Linked DNA regions of Homo sapiens: all the other regions are linked to region 4. Evidence: promoter capture Hi-C in 16 types of primary human blood cells and fetal thymus (Javierre and others, 2016). All regions are on one chromosome and are shown on one strand. Each heading gives the region's core, a stretch centred on a gene start or on the middle of the fragment in contact. The rest is flanking DNA. Distances are from core to core; before and after follow the strand shown. Region 1 holds the start of CACNA1C-AS1 (CACNA1C antisense RNA 1). Region 2 overlaps CACNA1C (calcium voltage-gated channel subunit alpha1 C). Region 3 overlaps CACNA1C (calcium voltage-gated channel subunit alpha1 C). Region 4 holds the start of CACNA1C-AS4 (CACNA1C antisense RNA 4).

What was found. The method cuts DNA at HindIII sites, captures the fragments that hold promoters and counts their contacts. A CHiCAGO score of 5 or more calls a contact.
Region 1: the fragment with the promoter of CACNA1C-AS1 here is called in contact with the fragment with the promoter of CACNA1C-AS4 in region 4 in 2 of 17 cell types (M0 macrophages and M2 macrophages); the score reaches 6.2 in M0 macrophages.
Region 2: a fragment that was not itself captured here is called in contact with the fragment with the promoter of CACNA1C-AS4 in region 4 in 1 of 17 cell types (monocytes); the score reaches 6.5 in monocytes.
Region 3: a fragment that was not itself captured here is called in contact with the fragment with the promoter of CACNA1C-AS4 in region 4 in 3 of 17 cell types (megakaryocytes, monocytes and M2 macrophages); the score reaches 6.2 in megakaryocytes.

The regions. Positions count from the first base shown.
Region 1 is chr12:2,688,115-2,693,809 of GRCh38, forward strand. It overlaps CACNA1C-AS1 (CACNA1C antisense RNA 1), which reads right to left and starts at 3,043. Exons shown (of 4, transcript NR_045725.1): 1 at 2,955-3,043; 2 at 2,693-2,865; 3 at 2,026-2,096. It overlaps CACNA1C (calcium voltage-gated channel subunit alpha1 C), which reads left to right. Exons shown (of 47, transcript NM_000719.7): 46 at 333-665; 47 at 2,786-5,695. The coding sequence ends at 3,085. RefSeq lists a silencer at 3,503-3,772. The HindIII fragment of the contact is 2,873 bases long and covers 1,949-4,821 here.
Region 2 is chr12:2,599,690-2,604,999 of GRCh38, forward strand. It overlaps CACNA1C (calcium voltage-gated channel subunit alpha1 C), which reads left to right. Exons shown (of 47, transcript NM_000719.7): 22 at 2,165-2,271. Among named protein-coding and RNA genes, the nearest start is that of CACNA1C-AS2, 70 kb to the right of the region's middle. The HindIII fragment of the contact is 537 bases long and covers 3,790-4,326 here.
Region 3 is chr12:2,583,978-2,589,635 of GRCh38, forward strand. It overlaps CACNA1C (calcium voltage-gated channel subunit alpha1 C), which reads left to right. Exons shown (of 47, transcript NM_000719.7): 16 at 526-640; 17 at 1,399-1,519; 18 at 1,858-1,927. Among named protein-coding and RNA genes, the nearest start is that of CACNA1C-AS2, 85 kb to the right of the region's middle. The HindIII fragment of the contact is 1,958 bases long and covers 652-2,609 here.
Region 4 is chr12:2,221,892-2,227,366 of GRCh38, forward strand. It overlaps CACNA1C-AS4 (CACNA1C antisense RNA 4), which reads right to left and starts at 1,590. Exons shown (of 4, transcript NR_046578.1): 1 at 1,474-1,590; 2 at 309-529. The region is part of intron 3 of CACNA1C (calcium voltage-gated channel subunit alpha1 C); the gene reads left to right. The HindIII fragment of the contact is 15,222 bases long and covers 1-5,381 here.

The DNA of each region.
Region 1 (5,695 bases), core at 1,793-4,292, 470 kb after region 4:
GACAAAACCAAGAGCGAGAGAATGCACAGCTGACAGGTGACCAGGCCAGGGCTAAAAGCAGGTTACCACGACTTCACCCAATCCCAGCTTTCAGAAGTTACAGGAGAAAGAGATCACTTCAGACCCAGATGATCCTAAGATGTATTTTGAGATAGTTGAAAGTCATGCCAGGTTGAGATAGGACCGACAGGGGAAAATAATGGCATGGGAATACCAGGCAGGTGGAGCTAGCTGGACACAGCAGCTGCAAAGCAGTGCTTGCTCAGAAGCAGGGGCCTGCCTTGTTTGGGGTCGGCCACTCCTATTAACTCACACTCCTTGTGTGTCCGCAGGCATTGGCAGTGGCAGGCCTGAGCCCCCTCCTCCAGAGAAGCCATTCCCCTGCCTCATTCCCTAGGCCTTTTGCCACCCCACCAGCCACACCTGGCAGCCGAGGCTGGCCCCCACAGCCCGTCCCCACCCTGCGGCTTGAGGGGGTCGAGTCCAGTGAGAAACTCAACAGCAGCTTCCCATCCATCCACTGCGGCTCCTGGGCTGAGACCACCCCCGGTGGCGGGGGCAGCAGCGCCGCCCGGAGAGTCCGGCCCGTCTCCCTCATGGTGCCCAGCCAGGCTGGGGCCCCAGGGAGGCAGTTCCACGGCAGTGCCAGCAGCCTGGTGGAAGCGGTAGGTGACTCGCAGATGGGCAGGGGGGAGAGGCCACGGGCAACAAGGGGACTTGGCATGCGGGGCTGAGAAGGGAGCACCTGGCTCTTGCCAAATTCATTGCAGTCAATATCTGAGCCCGAAAGACCCTCCCTCTCAGGGCTGCAGGAGGGCTCGTGTGCGGAAAGCCATGACTGCACAAGATGCTATGGGCTCTCTTGAGGCTGGGCCCACTGCAGAGGGCGGCAGAAACCACTGAGCAACTTATCCCTTATACTGCAGCTGCTCGACATGCAAATGTGAGCCTGGCTGCCTTTATACACAGACAGGCAAGATCCAAGGTGCTCAGGCCTGACTGCCCGTGAGCATCACCTGGGGAGCTTTGGAAACCCGGGACAGATTAACTGATGATTGTTAAAGCTCTTCGATGATTTTAACGTGTAGCAAGGTTGAGAGCCACTAGCCTAGAACAAGCGAGCTTTCAGTCCCACTGTGCTCTGCCTGGTCAGAGCATCTAGTGCAATCCCGGCACCACATTATTAGGGACCTTTGACACACTGGAACAAACCCAACAGAGGATGACCAGGATGGCAAGGTTCCTAGAAACCATTTCCTAGGAGAACCGTTTCAGGGAATTCGGGAAGAAAACCTGGAGAGGAGGTGACTTTGGAGGGTGCGATACACCTCTCACACCTGCAACGGGTGGGATGGGGAAAGGGTGGCAGGCTCAGCCCACCAGCGGACAGATTTCAGCTCACATGGGGAAGACCTTCCCAAATGAGCTCTTCCAAGATGAGAGGGGCTTGCCTGAAAGGTAGTGAGCCCCCCATCATCAGACATAGCCAAGCAGAGACTGTGCTCATCCGGGCGTCAGGCTGTGGTGCAGGAGGTGGGGCGTTAAACCAGGTGGCTTCCAAGGTTTACCTCTCAAAGTCTGGTATTCCTGTGGCCTCGATCATCCTGCATTCATTTCACAGACCTTCCCTGAGCGCCTACCATGTGCAGGCCCTGTTCTAGGTACAGGGACACAGCTGAGAAACAGAGCTTCTGCTCTCATGAGCTCACATCATGGTGAGGAGAGACAGATAATAAACACATACATATATAACACATCAGGAAGGTCAGGAGTGCCAAAGAAAAACTAAGCAGGGCAAGGAGAGAATGAGTGGCGTGGGCAAGGAGCAAGACAAACAGATGCCTGAAAGGAGCGAGTGCCAGGCTGCACTCAGCTTCCCCCGACCCGCTGGCTCAGGAGCCGATTTTCCCATAGCCAGGCACTAAGCAGCCGGTAGGGAGGACAGAGAAGCTTAAGGGTCACCTGCTGGCCCTTCCCAGCAGAAGCAAGGCAGGGGCATGCGCCGTGTTTGCACAGATACCTCACCCCTGGAAAGGCAGCAGCAGGCAATGGGCAGTGGGCCTGTCTCAGCAGTTTCACCAGGGAGAATGGTTTCTCTGAAAGAATAGTATAAAGGTTCAGTGGGTGTCAGAAAGGAGAGAGGCAGGCTGGGATCTGCTGATACAGCATCAGGGCAACCCCCCGGCCCCTCTGAGAGCCAAACCTTCTCTGGTTTTTGTTTTGGTTGTTTTTTGAGACAGGGTCTCGCTCTGTCACCCAGGCTGGAGTGTAGTGGTACAATCACAGCTCAGTGCAGCCTGGCGCTGCTGGGGTCAAATGATCCTCCCACCTCAGTCTCTGGCCTTGCTAAGATCACAGGTGTGCATCACCACACCCAGCTAATTATTCTTAAATTTTTTGTAGAGACGAAGTTTCCCTGTGTTGCCTGGGCCTGGTCTCGAACTCCTGGGCTCAAGCAGTCCTTCTGCCTGGGCTTCCCAAAGTGCTGGGTGACAGGTGTGAGCCACCGTGCTGGGCCATAAGCAAGTCTTCATATATTTGATGACAGTGTTTGACCACCCCAGCCAAAACTTCTCTGGCCTGCACATCCCTAATTCTGGCAGATGCTCCATCTCCACTTGTTCCCCATGGGTGCCCCTCCCAACACACACACGTACACGTGCACACACGCACACTTCCCCAAGTGACCTACCAGATACCCCCTCGCTCTAGCCCTCAAGGGAAGAGCTGGGCTCCAGGAGTAATGTTCCTTTGGTTCTTCATGGCTCCCACCCCGCTCCTTCAGGTCTTGATTTCAGAAGGACTGGGGCAGTTTGCTCAAGATCCCAAGTTCATCGAGGTCACCACCCAGGAGCTGGCCGACGCCTGCGACATGACCATAGAGGAGATGGAGAGCGCGGCCGACAACATCCTCAGCGGGGGCGCCCCACAGAGCCCCAATGGCGCCCTCTTACCCTTTGTGAACTGCAGGGACGCGGGGCAGGACCGAGCCGGGGGCGAAGAGGACGCGGGCTGTGTGCGCGCGCGGGGTCGACCGAGTGAGGAGGAGCTCCAGGACAGCAGGGTCTACGTCAGCAGCCTGTAGTGGGCGCTGCCAGATGCGGGCTTTTTTTTATTTGTTTCAATGTTCCTAATGGGTTCGTTTCAGAAGTGCCTCACTGTTCTCGTGACCTGGAGTTAACCGGAACAGCGTCTTCATTCATTTCTGTTGGGACCAGACGCGGAGCCTGGGTGCGCGAGCCGCCCTCCGGGAGGAAGGCGCCCGGCTGCGTCTGCAGAGGCGGGGAGAGGAGGCGGCGAGGGTCCCGGGGCGCGAGGAAGGCGCCTGCCCTCTCCCAGCTCGCAGGCCCCGGGCCCGGCCGCGCCTCCGCGGGGAGAGCACCCCGGCTTCCCGCGCGCCCTCACCAAAAGGACCCTACAGCAAACGGGTGTCTTTCGACTCTGCTTGTAGAAACCATTTGCACATATTCTGTACGAGCCTCGCTGTCTCCCTAGAGCCAGGGCCCTGCGGATTTGGAGAAGGGAGCGGGGCAGGACTTCCAGGAGGACCCCAACCCGGCCCGGAGAGGGAGGAGGAGGCCTCCAGGGGCGCGGAGCTCTGGGGATGGGCGTCGGGCCGGCAGTGGTGCGGCTCACTCCGTCCCTGCCCACCTGCGACGGGATCCCCCGACCGGCACGGGCCACGCCGAGCTCCCGGCCAGCCGCCGGCCCGCAGGCAGCGCGAGGGAGGAGCTGCGCCGCCGGCTCCGCCCAACCAGGTGGTGCTGAGCTTCCGCTGAGCGCTCTTTTGTTTTGTGGTTTGACACTTTTCTTGACAGCATGTTGCAGTTTCTTTTCGGTTTTGGTTTTTTTTAAATGTTTTATTTTGCTTTCCCAGCGGGAGGGGAGGAAGAAGAGTGTTTACAAAGTCCTGTAGCCCCCTCACCTTTCTGTTTTCACTTTTGCCAATGTACATCGGGTTTGGTTTTCTTGTATTATTTAAACGGTTGTGGTTTCCTTTTTCCACGGAGGTTCAATAGAAGCCGCTGCAGGAGAGTTTTACCAACCATTGTGTATGCCCAATAATTTGTTATCATTTCCTTAGGTAGTAACCTATTTTTGTTCTGGTTTGGTTCGGTTATCTAATGGAAAGGTAACTGGCAATGCACTTGATGTGGTCTTGCACATGTGGGTGATAGAGTTGGGTTCCTTTTTATGCTGGGTGTACAGGTGGGTTTGGGAGAGAGGAGCATGCGCGAGAGAGTCTCCGAGTGTGTGCGACGCGTGTGTGTGTGGTGGGTTGTCTGTGTGCATATGTCCTGCCCGTGTATATGCACCCACACCATGTGCCCGTGCACACCAGTGACTACGCAGTCCCCCCTTTCTGGTTTAGCTGTGGGAAGATCTGAATCTGGGGCCGTTTGAAAGCAAAAACAAACCACTGTCTCTGCTTCTGAAACGGGAATCAGTAACTCTTTGCATTTTCTGTCCCACAAGATATGCAAAAACAATGCAATAATATTCATTTAAAAATACAATTGTGAGTTGTGTTGGCATTAAAACTGTATTTTAAAAAAAGACAGAAATTTAAGGGAAAAACACAAGAAGGCATTTTGCTTCAATATATTCCGTGTAATGTTTTATTGCATTGATAATGTTTCTGTTGAAGAAACCGTTATACTTGAATTCAGGTCAGTTTCAGTATTTTTCAAATATTTTTTTAAAACTGAATTGCAATTGTGCCAAGCGAATATAATGAATTGAATTAAGTTGGTTTTCGGATTCACTTCTTGTATATTTTGCTGCATGTAAAGTAAATCATTTTGTATTTGGAGTGTGACAAGCTTTACCTTTGAACTCAAGTGCTTTTCTATATGTGGTTGGGGGAAAGGGAACAAGTTTTCTTTAGTTTGCACAATGAGCAAAGGTATCACCAGTGTAGTCATTATTCTGCTCTCCACAAACAGGTTTGGACATTACTGTTTTGCATATCTTGTGTTTGCTTACATTTCCCTCAATTTTTCCAAAATCGTTTGCTGGGTATGTTTGTACCGCCTCTTGCTGTGAGAGACCAGGACCTATTTTATTCCAGTCTTCACTCTGTCCACTCTGCTCTGGTCATCTGATTTGGTACTTCTCCAAGAACAGCCCTTCACTGTGAGGTGCAGGGAGGCGTTCTGATGAGCCCTCAGTCACTGGGCCGTCATCCGCATCCCCCATGGAAGAGGTAGCTGGCTTTCCCTTCCCTTCCACCACACGGAATTTTCTCTTTGGCTTCCTTAGGAAAGTGTACACTAACCGGGAGGATAAAATTAAAGTCAGGCTGCTTGGAGGGAGGGGCATCCTCACTTCCGGATTCTTGTTGCTCTACCCAACAAGGACAGCAGGGGCTCGAGAAAGGAACTGGTGAAACCCTGATCCATCTGAAAGTCAACTCTGCGTGCTCCTTTCTCCATCCCTTCCTCACTCTGGAGCAGCCTTTCCTTCAGGCTTGCCCTAATGTTTGGGCTGCCGGGGAGGGGGCCAGGACAAGGGAAGAGGCATCCGGAGCTCACAGTGGGGGTGGGAACAGATTTTTGTGGGGGCATCTCTAATGCTCACTTATATCTCCCTAGAACATCACTCTTTTGGTGCTGTGTCCTTCAAATGTATGTCAACAGTGGTGGCTGAAAAGGGACTGCTTTGGGGAAAACAGGACCCAACCATTCACCCAGAA
Region 2 (5,310 bases), core at 2,808-5,307, 380 kb after region 4:
GGAAAGCAGGACCGAGGTGGCTGGCAATCAGAAAAAAAGGGTCAAAGAGGAACAATTAGCACTGGGTACCTGAGTCTGGCTTTTCCTGATGCCCTGAACACCACAGATGACTTTCAAGTAAATGCTACGTTTTCCCCATGTCCATTTGCCCTTTCTTGTACAGCCACTCTTCCTCTGGCCCTGCCTGGATGCATGTTCCCACCGCCCCCACATGCACACACATGCACTTGCTCAAGTGTTGGTCTCATTTGAGGGTCCCTAAACAAAACAGGAGCCCAAAACCAGAGGACAGAGTTGGCACTCTGAGCCTTATTAGTCCACCCATCTGAGGAATGCAGAGTGTTCTGTTAGAGCTCAGTAGTAGCCTCAGAAGATCCAAGCCAGGAGCAAGAAGGGATCAGACCCAGTGCCTTCCTAACACTAAAAGCAAGGTGGCTGGGGAAGTACTGGGCTTTCTGCAGGCACAATTAATATGAATTATGGGAGCCTCCTGAGTCCAGTCTGTGGGGGTCCCAGCTCTTCACCAAGAGGCAGGGAGGCAAGGCTTCCAGATGGTGGGCCTTCTAGAACTATACTCCCTTGCATCTTTTATGTAATCTACCCACTTCTAAAAACCATTGCCCAACACAGGTGCCTGAGTCCTTTGGGACCCCCTGCTGCAAGAGATAAATGGAAAGAATTAGGTTGCAAGAGCTATTTTTGCCCATTTCCCTCTGTGTTTGCTTTTGAATGGCTCTGCGGACACTCTGCCCTGGGCATGCTCTGATTCCAAAGAGATGAACTGGACCCCAGATGACCGGGGAGCCTTGCTCCACCTCTCCACTGTCGGCTCCACATTTTCCCTTTGGCCGATGCTTCCTGTCCGCTGCCTGTCACAGCCCTTATCCTGGATAACCACTGGCCCTTACGCAAGTCGGCAAAATGAGAAAGGCTGTAAAGGTGATTTGTTGAGCACCTGCAGTGCGCAGCTTTACACCAGGCTCAGAGGGTGGTAATAATGGCCAAGTCCTGTAGCAGTCATCGTCATCTTGTGTGTTCTCTTTTTAAAAGTTTCCAAAGGGCTTTCACAAAGCCAGGGGATAGTTTCCTCACCTTTTGATGAGAAAACAGAACTTTTCTCATCCAGGAAGCATCCAGAATTCAAATCCAGGCTGTAGTGACAGCTCACCCTTTTATGGGGCTCACCGTGTGCAGGGTGGCATCCTAAGTATTTTACATAGAGGTACCCACTTGATGCTTACAACCCTGTAGGGTAGACCTTATCCTCATTTTTCCAATGAGGAAACAGAGGCACTAAGAGAATTTGAGTTTCTTGCTCCAGGCCACAAAAATAAAATACCACAGGTCTGGGATTCCAGCCCAGGCCGTCTGGCCTCAGAGCCTGTGCTCTTAGCCACTGAGCCTCATAGCCCCTCTGATCACACAACTTTTGCCCTTAAAGAACTCCAGATGTAGTCTAGAAGCAGGACAGTAGAATTGAGTTTAGAATATTTGGCATCAATAATAAGCACCCTTTGAGGCCAGGAAGGGGAGGTATGCTAATTGCCAGGGTCACCACTGGAACTTCTCACCAGGCACCAGGGTGACCAGCTGGCCTAGTTTGCCTAAGACTGAGGAGTTTTCTGGGATGCAGGATTTCTGATGATAAAGCAAATCTGGGCAAACCAGGATGGCTGGTCACCCTGCTGGGCATGCCCCGCCCCCCAACCCACCCACTCACGGCAGATGTCTGGTGCTCTCAGCTGGCCTAAGGACTCAAGCATTTGGAGAGGCAGTCGGGATGTGTGCTCCCAACCCGACAGCATCAGGAAAGGACCCTGCAGGCCCAAAGCCATGGACTTGGGATGTGGAACAGTGCGAAATTAGAGTGGGATGGTGGGGCCCACTTGAAAGGGCTTTGAATGGAGGACTAAAGAGCCTGGCTTGGCCTGGCAGGTGCAAGGAGCCACCCAGCAGTCCTGGGCTGCGAGAGTCTTGGGTGGTTGTGTGCATGGTAGCAGAACTCTTTTCTTGGCACCATAGCGCCGTCTTTGTCCTTCCTGTTCCCCATGGATGGTGCTTGGGACTTGCCCAAGGGATGCTGTGGGAGGAAGGGGTGGTGTGAGGGGTCTCTGGGCTAGGGCTAGGGCCACTCACACTGGTGTTCCTTTGTCCCTCCCTGCAGATGACTGCTTATGGGGCTTTCTTGCACAAGGGTTCTTTCTGCCGGAACTACTTCAACATCCTGGACCTGCTGGTGGTCAGCGTGTCCCTCATCTCCTTTGGCATCCAGTGAGTGGGAGCCCCTCAGCCCACGATGGGCCATGCAGCTAGCAAGGGGTGCCAGAGAGGACAACCAGACCCTGGAGGGCCTGCCTGCAGGGCCACCGCAGTGTGATGAGAGTGGGGTGGGGCCTCCAAAGCTGTGCATGGTGGCTTTGGGTTCTTGGTTCTGTGTCCTCAGTGGTCTGATACTTGGGGCACGTTGATCAGGTGAGAATATGTTTAATTATCTGGGTTTTGCCATGACAGGCAGGGCCAGGCTCAGCTATTAAGAAACGGTTGTCTCCAGGACCTTCCTGCCTCCTCCACCACGGCCCCAGTGCCCTAGGCTGACCTTCAGCAACCCACAGTCTGCCACTGCCGTGACCTCCCCTGACCTGGACCCTCCTTCTCCCTTTCTCTCCCCTCTCTCTCCAGCCAAAGCACCTCATGTATGAGTGTATGTGTGAATGTGTGTATATATATGTCTGTGTAAGTGTGGGGTGTATGTGTGCACGTGTGTGGATGTGTGGGGTGTGTGTATATGTGGATGTGTGTTTGTGGCTGTGTGTATGTGTGTGTATGTATGTGTTTGTGTTTGTGTCTGCATATGTGTCTATGGACGTGAATGTATATGTGTATGTATGTGCATATGTATGTGTGAGTGCATGTATGTGTGTGACTGTGTATATTTGTGTCTTGTGTGTGTGTGTGTGTGTGTGTGTGTGTGTGTGTGTGTGAGTTTTTCATTTCACTGGTCTGGGGTACAGTCTGGGTGTGAGTTCTAAGAGCTTTCCAGGTGACTCCCCTGTACAGCCAAGCTTGCAGTCCTCGTTCAGGTGTGGAGGATCTGATTACCAGTTTCTACCAAGTTCTAACAGCTGATAGTGTGAATCCTACACTTTAACTTTCAAAGCACTTCCACATACACATTCTTCTGTGGTCCTCACACACACAAAACGATGGGGGAGACGGGGCAAGTGTTATCATGATTGTATAGATGGGAAATTTGGAGTTCAGGACATCATGACACTTGCTCAAGGTCACACCTGTGGTAGAGAAAGGCCTAAGTCCCAGCGTTCCTGGGTCTCTCCTCCCAAGAGTGTTTTCATGGTTGGCTGAGATCATGCAGGGACCAGGACCTTGGGAGAGACCCTTTTCTGTGATCATCAGTTATATTACCCCATATTTTCTGCCTGGGAGCCTACAAGTCCAGATTTGAATCCCAGCATGGCCACTCAGTCACTATTTAACCTTGAATGAGGAATTCCTCCTCTTTAGCCTGTGTTTTTCCCATCTGACCTTTAAATCCCTTCCATTGTGATTCGGTGCAAACTGACTCCCTCCCAGAGAGACTGTAGGAGAGACACAGTGATAGATAGGAATGGCCTTTGCATCTCTTGGAATAAAAGAGTCATGCACCAGAGAAATCGGATCTTTCCACCAGCCCCTTGAGCACATCATCCTGACCACACAAAGCATGAAATCAGCGCTTGCTGGCCTGTCATTCATTGTTTAGGTCCCAAGACAAGTATGAGGCTCTCCAAAAGCTTGAGAGGCTATCTCAGGTAGTTAGCCCGTGAGGGTTAGGATGTGCTCCATAGCTGCTCACCAAGGTGGTATGGTTAATGAGCCCCACCTGGGTAGGATGGACAGCTCCAAAAACCATCCAGGCATCTTGCTTAGGGACCTGTCTCCTGCTGTCTCCATTGCACTAGGGAAAAGCCGTAGCCCGAGACTCCGAGAAGCTCTGGCTTGGCCTCAGCATCCCAGGTGTATGGAACCTGTAGTGCCACGTAGGAGCCAAAGGGACTGGCCTTCTGAAGGGTCACTGAAAAATCAACTGACAAAAGAAAGGTTAATTGGAGACAAAGCATTCACATTTATTTAACGTGTATACACAGAGCCTATAGAATGCAGACCCAAAGATACAGGGGAAACTGACCATTTTTCTGCTTAGGTTCAAAAAAGTATGGACAGCCATGTAGAAATGTGATTGGACAAGAAGCGTAGGATCTAACGTGAATGGACCGAGTGGGGAACCCAGCAAGGCCTGTCTCTAGGTTCTTCTTGTGCTCTCTGTGAAGCTTTCCCTCCTTCTGGGTCGGGGCAGGATCCCGTCTGCAACAGGAGTCTGAGGATCTACACTCCCACATGGTGGATCTGGTCATTTTTTATGGCCAGTTTTTATACAGAAAAGGAGAGGGAAATTTTGAATAATATTTTAGGTTGTGTGGCTGGCTTTGAGGAAACGGGGTTCTGGGTTCTGGTTTCTGTGACCCATCTTGGGGAAGAGGGATTCTAGTGTCTATGGCTAGCCTGAGAGGAGAAGGGGACTGAGACAGGAGGGCAAGAGAAGGTCAGAGAAAAACTTTTGCTTCTGAGACTGCTTCTAAGGCCGTCGTTTCGGGGTGTTGTTTCCTGAGCCCCAACAGCGAAGCCCATCCTTCCTTGGAGTCCTGAGTGTGCTCTGGGTGGGTTTTATGTTTAGGTGTCAGGGGCAATATGTGTTTGGAGATAAACACTAAGAAATCTCCTCCCCATGACATCACCTCCAGCCACAAGGCCCGAGATCCCACCGTTAGTACGGCATTCCTTTAAGTGTAGTAACGTCTTCAGCAGGCCTCATGAGCAGGTACCATTCAGGCAGTTTCTCAAGCACATGGCTGGGTGATTTACATAGAATTCTTATTTAACCCTTGCAAAGACCTTCTGAGCTGATTACAGACCCATTTTACAGATAAAGAAACTAGAGCTCAGAAAATTTAGGAAATTTGTCCTCAGTGCCTTGGCTAGCAAGTGCCTGCACTGGGGTCTGAATTCCCATGGCCTTGCTCTGAATTTCTTTCTGTGACACTGTGAATGCCCCTGTGAGTAGCACAGTACATTGCTAATGACCTGCCATGAGCCACCTTGCATATTATTTAGTCACCCACAGGAAAGCCCCAGGGTTACAGGCAAGCTCCAGGCTCTCACGGGATGGGAGACAGGAGTAGAGAGTGGTCCCAGAATGCGAACATCCCCAAGATGGGCTTTATGTTTTCTCAGGTTTGCCTCGGATTCACCTGT
Region 3 (5,658 bases), core at 381-2,880, 360 kb after region 4:
AGAAAGGGCAAAGAACTGTCTCCACTGGGAACTCCCAAGCCTTGGCTGGCTCCAGATGGACCCTCCAAGGGTCTTCGTGGGTGCAGGCTCACATTAAGAGTTGGCAGAGATACCAAGCCACCCCCTCAGCGCCCAGTTATAATAAACCGCTCTTAAGAGCGTTCTGCATCCTGCTAGAGACAATGCTGTTTATAATGTCAATTACAGCCAGTCATCTCAGCAGGGAAAGCAATCATGAAACCCAGCAATTAAAGTGCAAGGCAGGGCTTGCTGCCTCCCTCCCGCCTGCTCCAGTGTGCAGGCTAGCCTGTTCTCATCCCTCTTGATAGCTCCAGGTAGCTAGGAGGGTGATGGGGAGGAAGGGGAGGGGAGGAACACTGTTGGGGTCTGACTCCCTCAAATTGCTTCCCCCTCAAGCTCTCTCTGCTGAGGAGCTCTACCCTGCACGCCCCACATCCCCCGTGCCCCTGTGCCCACCAAAACCCCAAACCAAGGGTCATTTTCTTTAAGAATGGACACAAACAGATATCCTACTGAATGTGTTCTTGGCCATTGCTGTGGACAACCTGGCTGATGCTGAGAGCCTCACATCTGCCCAAAAGGAGGAGGAAGAGGAGAAGGAGAGAAAGAAGCTGGCCAGGTAACCCTCTAAGCTTGCCCAGGCCTGGGGCTCCAGGGCTCCCATTGTGGAATGTCTTCCCACTGGTGGCAGAGAGAGGCTTGACTGCTAGCCTCTGTTGGCTCTCCCTCCTAGGAGGACTCTGGGTTTGGGGCTTCCTAAGTTGGGCCTCTCTCCTAATTCCTAAGCATCACTCTGGTAGGGACCATCATGAATTATAATAATCTCTGCAATGGTGTCATATTCTCCACCTGCTGGGATTATCTTTTGAGAAGCTGTGATAGGTGGCAGGAGTGTAGGGTGGGGAGAGAGAAAGGTAACCACTCAGTTGGGAAACGCAGCTCCAGCTTACAGAGGGAGTCCTCCTCACTACTTTATAATTCATCTCCAGTGTTAGGAAGGCAAGACGGGGCCCTATGTTGTATCCTATCATTATCTAGACGGGACAGTTCCAGGCCACACAGCTGCCGGGCACTGAGCAGAGCTCCTCCAGGAGCCAATCCTAGATGAGATCCACCATCCTTTTCTGCTTTGGCGACCCAGGCATCTCTGGAGCTGCAAGAGGCCAATTGCGTGTCAGGCAGAGCAGGTGTAGCTCAGCCCCATAGCACTTGTGACTGAGCTGCACACGAGAAGCGTCCTGGAGAAAGGAAGATGGACTCAGACCCAGGGGATCTGTCCCCTCTGGCCCCAACAGGCCACAGGGCGGTTCCCTCCTACACTGTTCCCTATCACTCCAGTAAACAGCCATTTATTTTTTTCTGCTGCTGACTGGCCAGGACTGCCAGCCCAGAGAAGAAACAAGAGTTGGTGGAGAAGCCGGCAGTGGGGGAATCCAAGGAGGAGAAGATTGAGCTGAAATCCATCACGGCTGACGGAGAGTCTCCACCCGCCACCAAGGTGAGGAGCTGTCTCCTTCCTGGAGCTGTGAGGCCGGTGCTGGGGAGGGAGGGCCACAGCCTTCCCAGGCCAGAACCCTGTGGAGAAGAGGAGAGAAAGAAAGACACCCAGTGGAAAGAAAGCCAGTGGGGATGAACAGGAGAGCTGGGAGGGGGAAGATAAGGCAGATTGGCTGGATCCCAGCCATCTGCTGATGTCTTGAAGGAGATATGCAAAGTGACAAGTACCTATTTTTGAGCTAAGTCACTGACTAAAATGCAACTTCAAGGCTACTGCAAGCCTCTTAACTTGGGGACGTATCTAACTATTCTTCCCCCTTCTCCCCTGTGACTGTCTAGATCAACATGGATGACCTCCAGCCCAATGAAAATGAGGATAAGAGCCCCTACCCCAACCCAGAAACTACAGGTACCAGTCCCACTGCCTAACCTGGGATTGGGAGATTGGGGGCAGAGATCTAAATTCTAAAGCCACGTGGGAGTGGCCATATATTAGGGACCATGGTTCCAGTGTCCCTCTGTAAGTACCTTCCACTGCTGAGTGTCTTCTATCTCTATATTTAAGCATCATCAGTCAGCATCTGGGAGGCAGGTTTGTTTCTGGTTTCCTCATAATGAGATCACATTTGAGCAGTGCTTTTGTGTCCTTTCCAAGTTGGATTCAGTGTACATTTAAATTTTTGTTACATTACATGTTGTAAAATCATCATTAATTTATATAATGTATTAGTATGGCATATGTTGCAACATTATGCTCACTTAATATTAATAGTCAATCCCAAGTCTGCCTTGCCCCTACTCAGGAGGCAGTGCCGAGTGCAGGGACAGCTGCCACCACAGATGTCCCACTTGTTGCTTTAGGCAATGATTTCAGGTCTCATTATAAAAGGCGCGCTTACTGACTCCATCTTTTTATGCTTCTATCTGATACCTAAATTGGCAGGCAGTCTGCTTCTCAAGAGCTTTAATGTCAGAGATCAGAGGTCCTCCCTCCAGGCTTCACTTCCCTGCTCCCTGAAATCCCATACCCTGTGCAAGGCCTGGGCTTGCCTTCCTCTGACCTAGGATTGCAGATATTATCGCCAGTTTCAAGCTTGAAGTCAATAACATGCTATCAAGGGACTGTTGATTTTACTGACATTTCCTTGTTCCTGTAGGTTAGGCTATATTTGGGTTGTTCACCAAGTTAGGTGGCTGAGAACCTCCTACATTTATGAGCAAAGCTCGGTTTCCCTTTTTGCTTTCCCTCCGCTGGTTCTCTGCTTAGAACACTCACAGGCATCCTTGGGAACCAGACTCCCTGTGGTCACACCATCCTCACTCCCCTCCTCCTGCAAGGGAATAGGATGTGGTTTCCTGGAGCTTGGATAGAAAGAACAGGAAGGGCGTTTTCATATGCCCGGCATTAAGGCTTTGAAGTTCTTAAAACCCCTTCTAGGGTGAAACCGTTAGGGAATTTCAACGACGTACTAGAATTATTGAACAAATGCAATGGGAGGATCTTGCCTTGATCCTGAAGCAACAAATACACTTTAAAATGACGTTTTAGAGGGAAATGGGGGAAATTGAATATGGACTGGGAACTAAATGATTGAAAGTAGTTTTGTTAATCTTGTTGGTATAATATTTTGTAGTTCTGTTTTTAAACTGCTGCAGTGTTTATGGCCAGAGTCTAAATGTTTACGAGTTGCTTTGCTTTTAAAATATTCCAACAAAAAAAAAATGGGGACAGAGAAGATAAATGGAACAAGATTAGCAAAATGTCCAAAGTTGTTGAAGCTGGTTATATATATGAGGTTTAGTATGTGAGACTGTACTCTTGTGTAAATCTTTAAGGTTTAAAATGAAAGACAGTAATAAAACAAATTCCTTAGAGCCCTGAGAAGAGCCCTCCCATGGGGCCAGCCTCCAGGATGGGCCTCCCTGCACACACAACAGGGCAGATCTAGCATGAGGGTCTTTTCACACAGGCACCCAGCTGCAGCCAGGCCTGTACGGCAGATACACCTCTTGCATCTTCAACAAAAATCTCAAATTCTATTAATCTATACTCTTGGCTTTTCTTTTCTTTGTTGCTCTAATGAAATCAAAGAGAAGAATGTTAATTTTAAAAAAAAAGGGCTAATGAGGATTTTGTCACCAGGTCGGCCATCCTAGAAATGCCTCTCACGTAGCTACCCAGTGGCTCTGAGGACTGGGGGATGCTTACGCTTTCCAGCTGAAAAGCTCTTCCCACCCTCTGCTGAGGCCTCAGGATTCTTGAGATTTTTGAGTGTACGGCCCGCTCCCCGTCATTTCTGTTGGTTACATGTGTCTCTTTACTTTCGTGTTGAGACCTCTGGTCCATACCCTGAGGCTGCCCTGACTGCCCCACCACGTACACCAGCCACCACTCCGGCCTCTGAAGCCAGCCCCAAGCATGCCCATTTGTGCACTATCCCTGGTTTCCAGGTCCTCATCCAGGAGGTCCAAAGGGCAGCATGCTCTTAAAGCTGGTGGCCCCACACATCACTCTGCCCCCAAAGGCTAAGTTAGCTTGTGCTTCCCAGCTCTTCCTGCCTTCCCATTTCCTCCCTTCCCTGCCTCCACAGTCAGCTCCTGGATCCTTTAGTGCCAGGTGCAGCAGAAGTTCCCAGAGACTCCTCCGAAGATCACGTGGCCTGTTGTCTCTGTTCTGGTCAATCTCTGGTTCCTTCCTGCTTCTTGTTCTCCCGAACCACGAATGGCAAAGATCCTGATCTACCATTGTGCTCCCAACCGCTGCCCCTTCCAGGCCGCTGGCCCCTGCCATGCCTGGTTCATGCAGGTACCCCTTAGCAGGCAGCACTGGTGAGTGTCCCTCCTGCTCTGCCTTCAGCCAGACCACTAGGGAGAAAGGGCCGGTGTCAGGGAGCACACTGCCATGCTCTCCTGCTCCCTCCCTGTCTCTCTCTTGCCCTGTCTCCTAGGCTTGCCCCCTGCCCTCTCCCTCTCTCCTGGGCTGTCCAGATTGCACCCAAAGTGATGTATCAGAGTGGCCAAGTGGGAGCTGGACTCCAGAGTGCACTCTGCTGGCTGCAGCTTCAATTACCCTCGCATGACCGCGAATACTCAGAGGAGGGGCCTGTTTCTAATTCAACAAGGGGCCATCGAGGCCAGCCATGGCCCTAGAATCCTTCCCTCTCTGTTTCATCTGAAAAGCTCGCCAGCTGCTTTCAACCTCCCAGATCGGTATACCCTAATTATAGAGAAAAACCCAACTCACTGAAAAGGAAAGCATTGTGCCCAGATGAGTGGAAGCTAATTCTACTTTTGTTTAATTTATTAATTTATTTGAGTGAGCATGCAGATGTTTGCAAGAGCCACTAAGGACTTAAAGTTAACAGGTACACACTAAAAAAAAAGGAGTGCCACCAGACACTGAGTAGTCAGCACCGCCTGTGCTGGGGGAGGCTTTCATTGCTGCAGAGGGTTCAAGGACAAGGAGAGCCATGAGGTGGTGGAGTCTGGGGGCTTCATGCAGAAGGGTGGTCTTGACTGAGCTTTGAGTCAGGGAGTTGGAGAGGCTGAAGGAGTTTTTTCAGGATCGTACAATCATCAGAGATGCTGAGAGTTGGGAGGAACCTTGTAGATATTCATGAACTACTCATGAAGCATTTAATGTGTGCCAGGCACTGTGCTAGGTACCAGGGACATGGGGGTCCTTGTTGTGGGCAAACAGGGAAGACCCCCACCCTCCTGGAACTGACATATCAGTGGGGAGACAGGCAGCAGACAAACCAACCAAAAAGGTGACATCACATGATGTGAAGATAGTAAAATCAAGGATTGTGTTAGGGGATACTCAGGGGTCAGGCTGCTTTGACTGTGTGGTCAGCAAAGGCTTCTCTGAGGACACAGCATTTGACTGGAACCTGAAGGATTCAAAAGAACTAGACATGGAATCGGAGCGAAGAGCTCTCTAGGTGGAGACCCTGAGTGCAGAGTCTCTTACAGGGATGCACTTGGCTGTGGGGACTCCAAAGAGGGCCAGTGTGCCTGCAGCAGAGAGAACCAAGGGATAGTGCCCTGAGGCGAGAGGCCGGGGCAGGGCAGGAGGGCAGGGCAGAAGGCGCAGGGCCATGCGGGAGGCTGGGTCTGATCCAGTGCCCTAGAGGGCCA
Region 4 (5,475 bases), core at 340-2,839:
CACATAAAGATGTTCAACTGCACTGCTAAATGAACAAACATAGAAAGTTATCTACAATATGATCCCAAATTTTATAAGATATATAACCTCTATTTACATCTCATATGAGTGTAGACAGGATATACTATACCCTGGAAGGTATAATAGGTATACATTAGAGTGTTAATGATAAGCCAATTCAGGGAACAAAATTACAAATTATTTTATTTCATTCTCTATTTATGATTCTTCTAAATTTTCTAACATAAACATTTGAAATAAAAACTTAAAAAAAGCCCTGTTATTTGAAAAAACTTGTGATGTCTTACCATGTCCAAGTATAAACTGAAAAGTGAATAAATCAGTGGGCTGGTGGCCCTTCTTAATACACTGCCATACATAGGACAACCATTTGTATTCAGAAAGTTTGTGTTGAGTAAGTCACTGGATTTGAGTCAGAAGACTTGGAGTTGGAGTCCCAGCTCAGCCATTCACTGGCTTTGTGATCTTGAACACGACGCTTAACCTCTAATGCACAGACTCTTGGCTGCTTCAATTTGCAGTGGGAATGAATGGTGATAACAAGAACAAGAATAATGCTTTCACGGAGTTGTGAGGATTCAGTGATAGGGAATTAGAAAATATTTTGTAAGAGGAAAACCACAATGTAAATATTAATATTTCAGGGCCCAAGTCTTTGACATGGACGTGACTATGGGCACCAATAGATTTTTGGATGGATCATTTATGGTACCCTGTCGTGCCCTTTAGTACACCTTTGCCTGGTGTACATCTCATGCAACCAAATGGCCAGCTCACGTCTGATCCCAAGCCCTGAATTAAGTGAGCAATCTGAACATGAGGGACAATGAGTTGTCCTGAGTGGCAGGCGGCTCTCAAGTGAGGAGTGCTTTCTCATTCACTGGAAAACTGTAAGTGAAATGCTGCTTCAGCAGCCACACCCAGAGCCCCTTTGATACATGGTTCAGCTGTTCTGTTACATAAACCTATTGGAAATGAACCTGCAAAGGAGTTGAGCAGAGGGAGGTGCCCATTGGAATAAGGACAAAGGAGAAATGCACTACCTCTCCATTTAAAGGAGACATTTGCTTTTTAATGGACCCTAAACACTGGGATCTGAAATGTCACAATCTTTACATACTGGAATGGACACGCACATAAATGCTGATGAACAGCTCAGCAGGCACTTAATTTTTAAATCCTTGATTGTTCAAGGACAGGGATATCCTACTTGGCTCTGCAAGACTCATAGCATACTGGACAATGTTGTCTGCATCGGAATGTCTTACTGGGGAGTCACACCTCCAAAAAGAAGCTGTGTGGTGAATGGGTCCAAACATAAGGGTTTGAGCCCCTGTTTTCAGCTGGGATTTTTGGGTAAAGGGAGATGAAGCAGCCAGGTCTAACCAACTGCAGAGGTTTATTTCTTGGGGACTCCCAGCTCCATTGAGGTGTAGAAAATATAGCACATACCAGTTACCAACAAGGATACCTGTTCCTGGATGGAACTGCCTGGTTGGAAAGAATGCTGGTGGTCAGTAGTGCCTTCTGATCCTAAGAAGAGGACCCTAACCTGGCCATTTTGAATAAGGGCCCCATAGCTGCTGATTAAGTGTGTCAATAGTGGGTTCCTTGTGATGTAACATTCATCGTCCTTCCTGTGGTGGATGACCCTACAGACCCACCTGCTGATAAGCTAAGCTGCTTGCTTAAGGCCATAAAGCTACAGAGGTATTAATCTAGAGTTTGAATCGGATCTCTCTGACTCTAAGACTCCTGCTCTGAAGTCCTCCATTATCCTTCCTCTTATAGAGTTGTTTTGCCAGTGCTATTGGATTTGAATTCAATTGTACCCTACGTACATTAGAATGAAAATGTTATACATCGTAGAAAATGAATAAATCATGGTTCCATCCCTCAAGAAACTTATATGTATTATTATTTAAGAGTTTGAAGTGCATAGCAAGAGCTCAATAAATAATTATTGAGTAAATGATAATACACAAATATATTCTAGTTTATTTATAGATATCCATAACCCCAATCAGATTATGATGCATCTCATAAAAGGTGCACACACAAAATCCCATCGGAGTTTAAAGACGGGAGAGAATACCTCTGGAGAAATCAGGAAAATAAAAGTTGGATGTATCATTTGAGATGGGTCTTAAAGACCTGTAAACACTCTGACAGGTAGAGATGGTGAGGCTTGGTTCCCACCCTGAACCTCCTGCCTGCTGATTGGTTCCTGCAGTAGACCCTAGGTGCCCTGGTTTGTTTCTGCTTTGTAATTCCACTTCTTAATGATATCAACAACTGGGAGCTGGGAAATGAAGTTTTTATTCTGATAAACCTGACTTGCCACAAGAGGCCTACAAGAGAAAGTATGATTTCTGGTCTCCTCTCCACCGTCTCCGATATGCAAACGAGTCACACATCTGTATCTTCATTCTAGAGCTCTCTTTTGAACTGCTAATCCCCCTGGCGGAGCCTCTGATCCTGGTTATCCAGCATTCTTCTAGATTTAAGGTTGAAACATGATTTAAGGTCATGAATGCATGACCTTCCCAGACTCCCTTGTACATGAGCTCCCACATTCCCAGCCCCTGTTCTGCTCCACCCCTTGTGGTGATAGCCAGGGTGGTCAGCTGCATTGCATGTTAGTAGTAAGGGAAGAATGGGGTGGTGGGTCCAGAGTTGTGTGTTATAAGATGACTTTGGAGGTCAGGCTGTTGTTTTGGCTCACTTTGGGATTTTGGGGAGTAGCTTACTTTGCCATCAATTTCCTGATGAAGAAAAGGCAACTTAGCATTCTTCGTATAAGTAAACAGGTCAGTGTTGGAGATAATTACATCATGAAGCACCGTGGGTCCCAGAGGTGGGAGGCCTCATGTAAGTACTACTGTGCTATTGCCATCATTGTCTGGAGGGGATGATAATGTCGTATTTGCTTGCAAAATGGTTTTCTGATGTTGGGTTGAAAGAGACGGTTATGTACCTTAGCCAACTGTTAGGGCTGTTTTTCTTCTAGCACAATTTATAAAGTGATTTTTGTCACACCCAAATTTTTGCAGGACCGCAGAACTCAGACATTTAAGGTTGTGGCTTTTCAGAATGGATGAATAAACGTTCGCACTCTAAACTTAAGAGTGTGAAGGCTTGTCAAGGCTCCATTTCTGGTTTGCTTTCTGATCTCATGCAAGTCACTTCACCTCTCTGCTTTTTGTTTTTCCATCTGTGAGACATTGCTCACTTTGCCAGGATATCTTCAATATGAAGAAGATAATGTGTGGAACGCTGTCAGCTGCTGCATCATTAAAAAGCATTTATTCAGCACTTATGTAGCATTGCACAAAGAGAATTATAAAGACTAGATCCCTGCCTTGTCTGCTAGGTTATATTCTAATATCTTCTTAAAAAGGCAGAAACTAGGCAACTAAAGAGAGCAATAATTCAAATGTTATCTTTTAAGCTACACAAATAACAGTAGCATAAATAATTAACAAGCACCAATACGCAAAGAAATCAGTTATCAAGAATACACAGAAATAGTTATCAAAAATACATAGATAAAATTATCAGAAATTTCTCAACTTTCTGGAGCCAAGTCATGCAAGAACCTGGTTTTATGTAAATGAAATTGCGATACTGCCCCCTGGAACCTGAGCAAGAAGAAGATCCTAGTGGGCGGAGTGGGGAGGGAAAGTGTTCTGGAGAGTTTTACTTGGGATTCTGGTATTTGGGTTTCTGTCACTGTCTCTTCTCCCTCCAAAGTCAACTAATACTCAGACATTAAGGCTTAAGACCCTGTTAAGGGGAAAGGTCTATGCTTTAGAGAGGATGCTGTAGAGTGGTAGGCAACCATCATTCCTCTTGTGAATATTGTGGTCATTGCATTATGGGCCTTCATTGAATTATGAACCATCATGAGGATGAGATCCAAACCAAGCTGGATGGAAACCACATGGATGAGGCCCCAGAGAGTGAGGACGCCATACAAATGTAATCACTGAGCTGTCTGAATCATCTTGAGAAAATTCTACAAGTCTGTATACATCTGACTTCCCCATCAGTTACACACTTTGAAAGGAAAGCTCTAGGGAGAAGAGTACCATTTGCTTCCCCAATGCTAGGAGAGGAAGGTGATGAGACCGAGATTACTAACTAAATTATTTCCTGTGACTTCTTAGAAAAGCTGAACTCCCAAGGTATGCCGCTTGGATATGGGGACGCGCACACACACACACACACACACACACACACACACACACACACACACACAGTTTTCTTCATACAGGGGTAGTAAAACCTGTCAGGAAATTAATTAAATTAGCTATTATTTGTGTTTCTCTTATAGTTTACAGCATCCTTTCACTGATTTGATCTCATTTGACATAAAAAGACTAGCTGTCAAGGTAGGTGAGACTAAGATTAATCATCCCCATTGTACATAAAAGGAAACCAAGACTCAGAGGTTAAATAACTTGGCCAAGGTCACACAACCAGTGTGAATCTGGCAGAGACCAGATTTAGATATTCACTGTAATACCCTGACTTTCTCTCTGGAAGATGGTCAGCAGTCTAAAGCCAATGTATTTAAATACCACCTATCACAAATTTTGCATACAAAGATTTCAAGCCCCATCTAGATACCTAGTTTTCCTCTCCATATCTCATGTTTTTAAATTACTATTTTGTGTCACCATAGTGCACAGCATGCTTAAGACCTGGCTTGCTGCTCTTAATAATTACATAGTGTCATTGTTTCCTCCACGGAGACTCACAGTGGAAGCTAGCAAGCCAGGAACTTGTCCTTCACTGCACTTGGGTCTTAAACAGCTACAAAATACACCGAGTTTGACTCCCATCTCCCTCCAGTTCTCGAGCTCTCTGCCTGTTGGTTTTCAGCACGAGTTTCAAGTATTCTTTCGGCAGGAGAAGGGCTCTTGAAAAATAGCCCATCACAGTGCAAATTCTTTTCTAATGAATGCGCTGGGCAGGCAATAAATCTGAAAGGGATGCATCTGAATCCCGGTCCAGGTGGAAGATGCTAAACTGGCCTAAGGTTTTCAAATATGCCTGTCCTTAGCCCACTTGCAGATATTGCTGCCGTTACTGCTGATGCCATGGCCTGTGTGGGGAGGCAGTCCTCACCAAGAACTCCCTCCACAACTGCTGGGTGATGGGGGGATTGCTGCATGCTTTCTCTGTTCCCTGCCCTCCCCTTTTTAGCTATTCCCCTCCTCTCTGAAATCATCCCCTCCTGACTTTAGTCCAGGATCTCCTTCCAGCTCCTCGCCTTCCTCTAACCAGGACCAACTTTCTGGAAAAATGGTTCTTGCACTTCAGTGTCAATTTTCCCCAAGAACATGAGCATTTCAAGCTTTGAGTGCTGATTCGGGAATTTATCCAGTCACAGGAGTTTCCCAGACAGACACTTCATTCTGTTGATTCAGAGTCATAGTGACTCTGTGA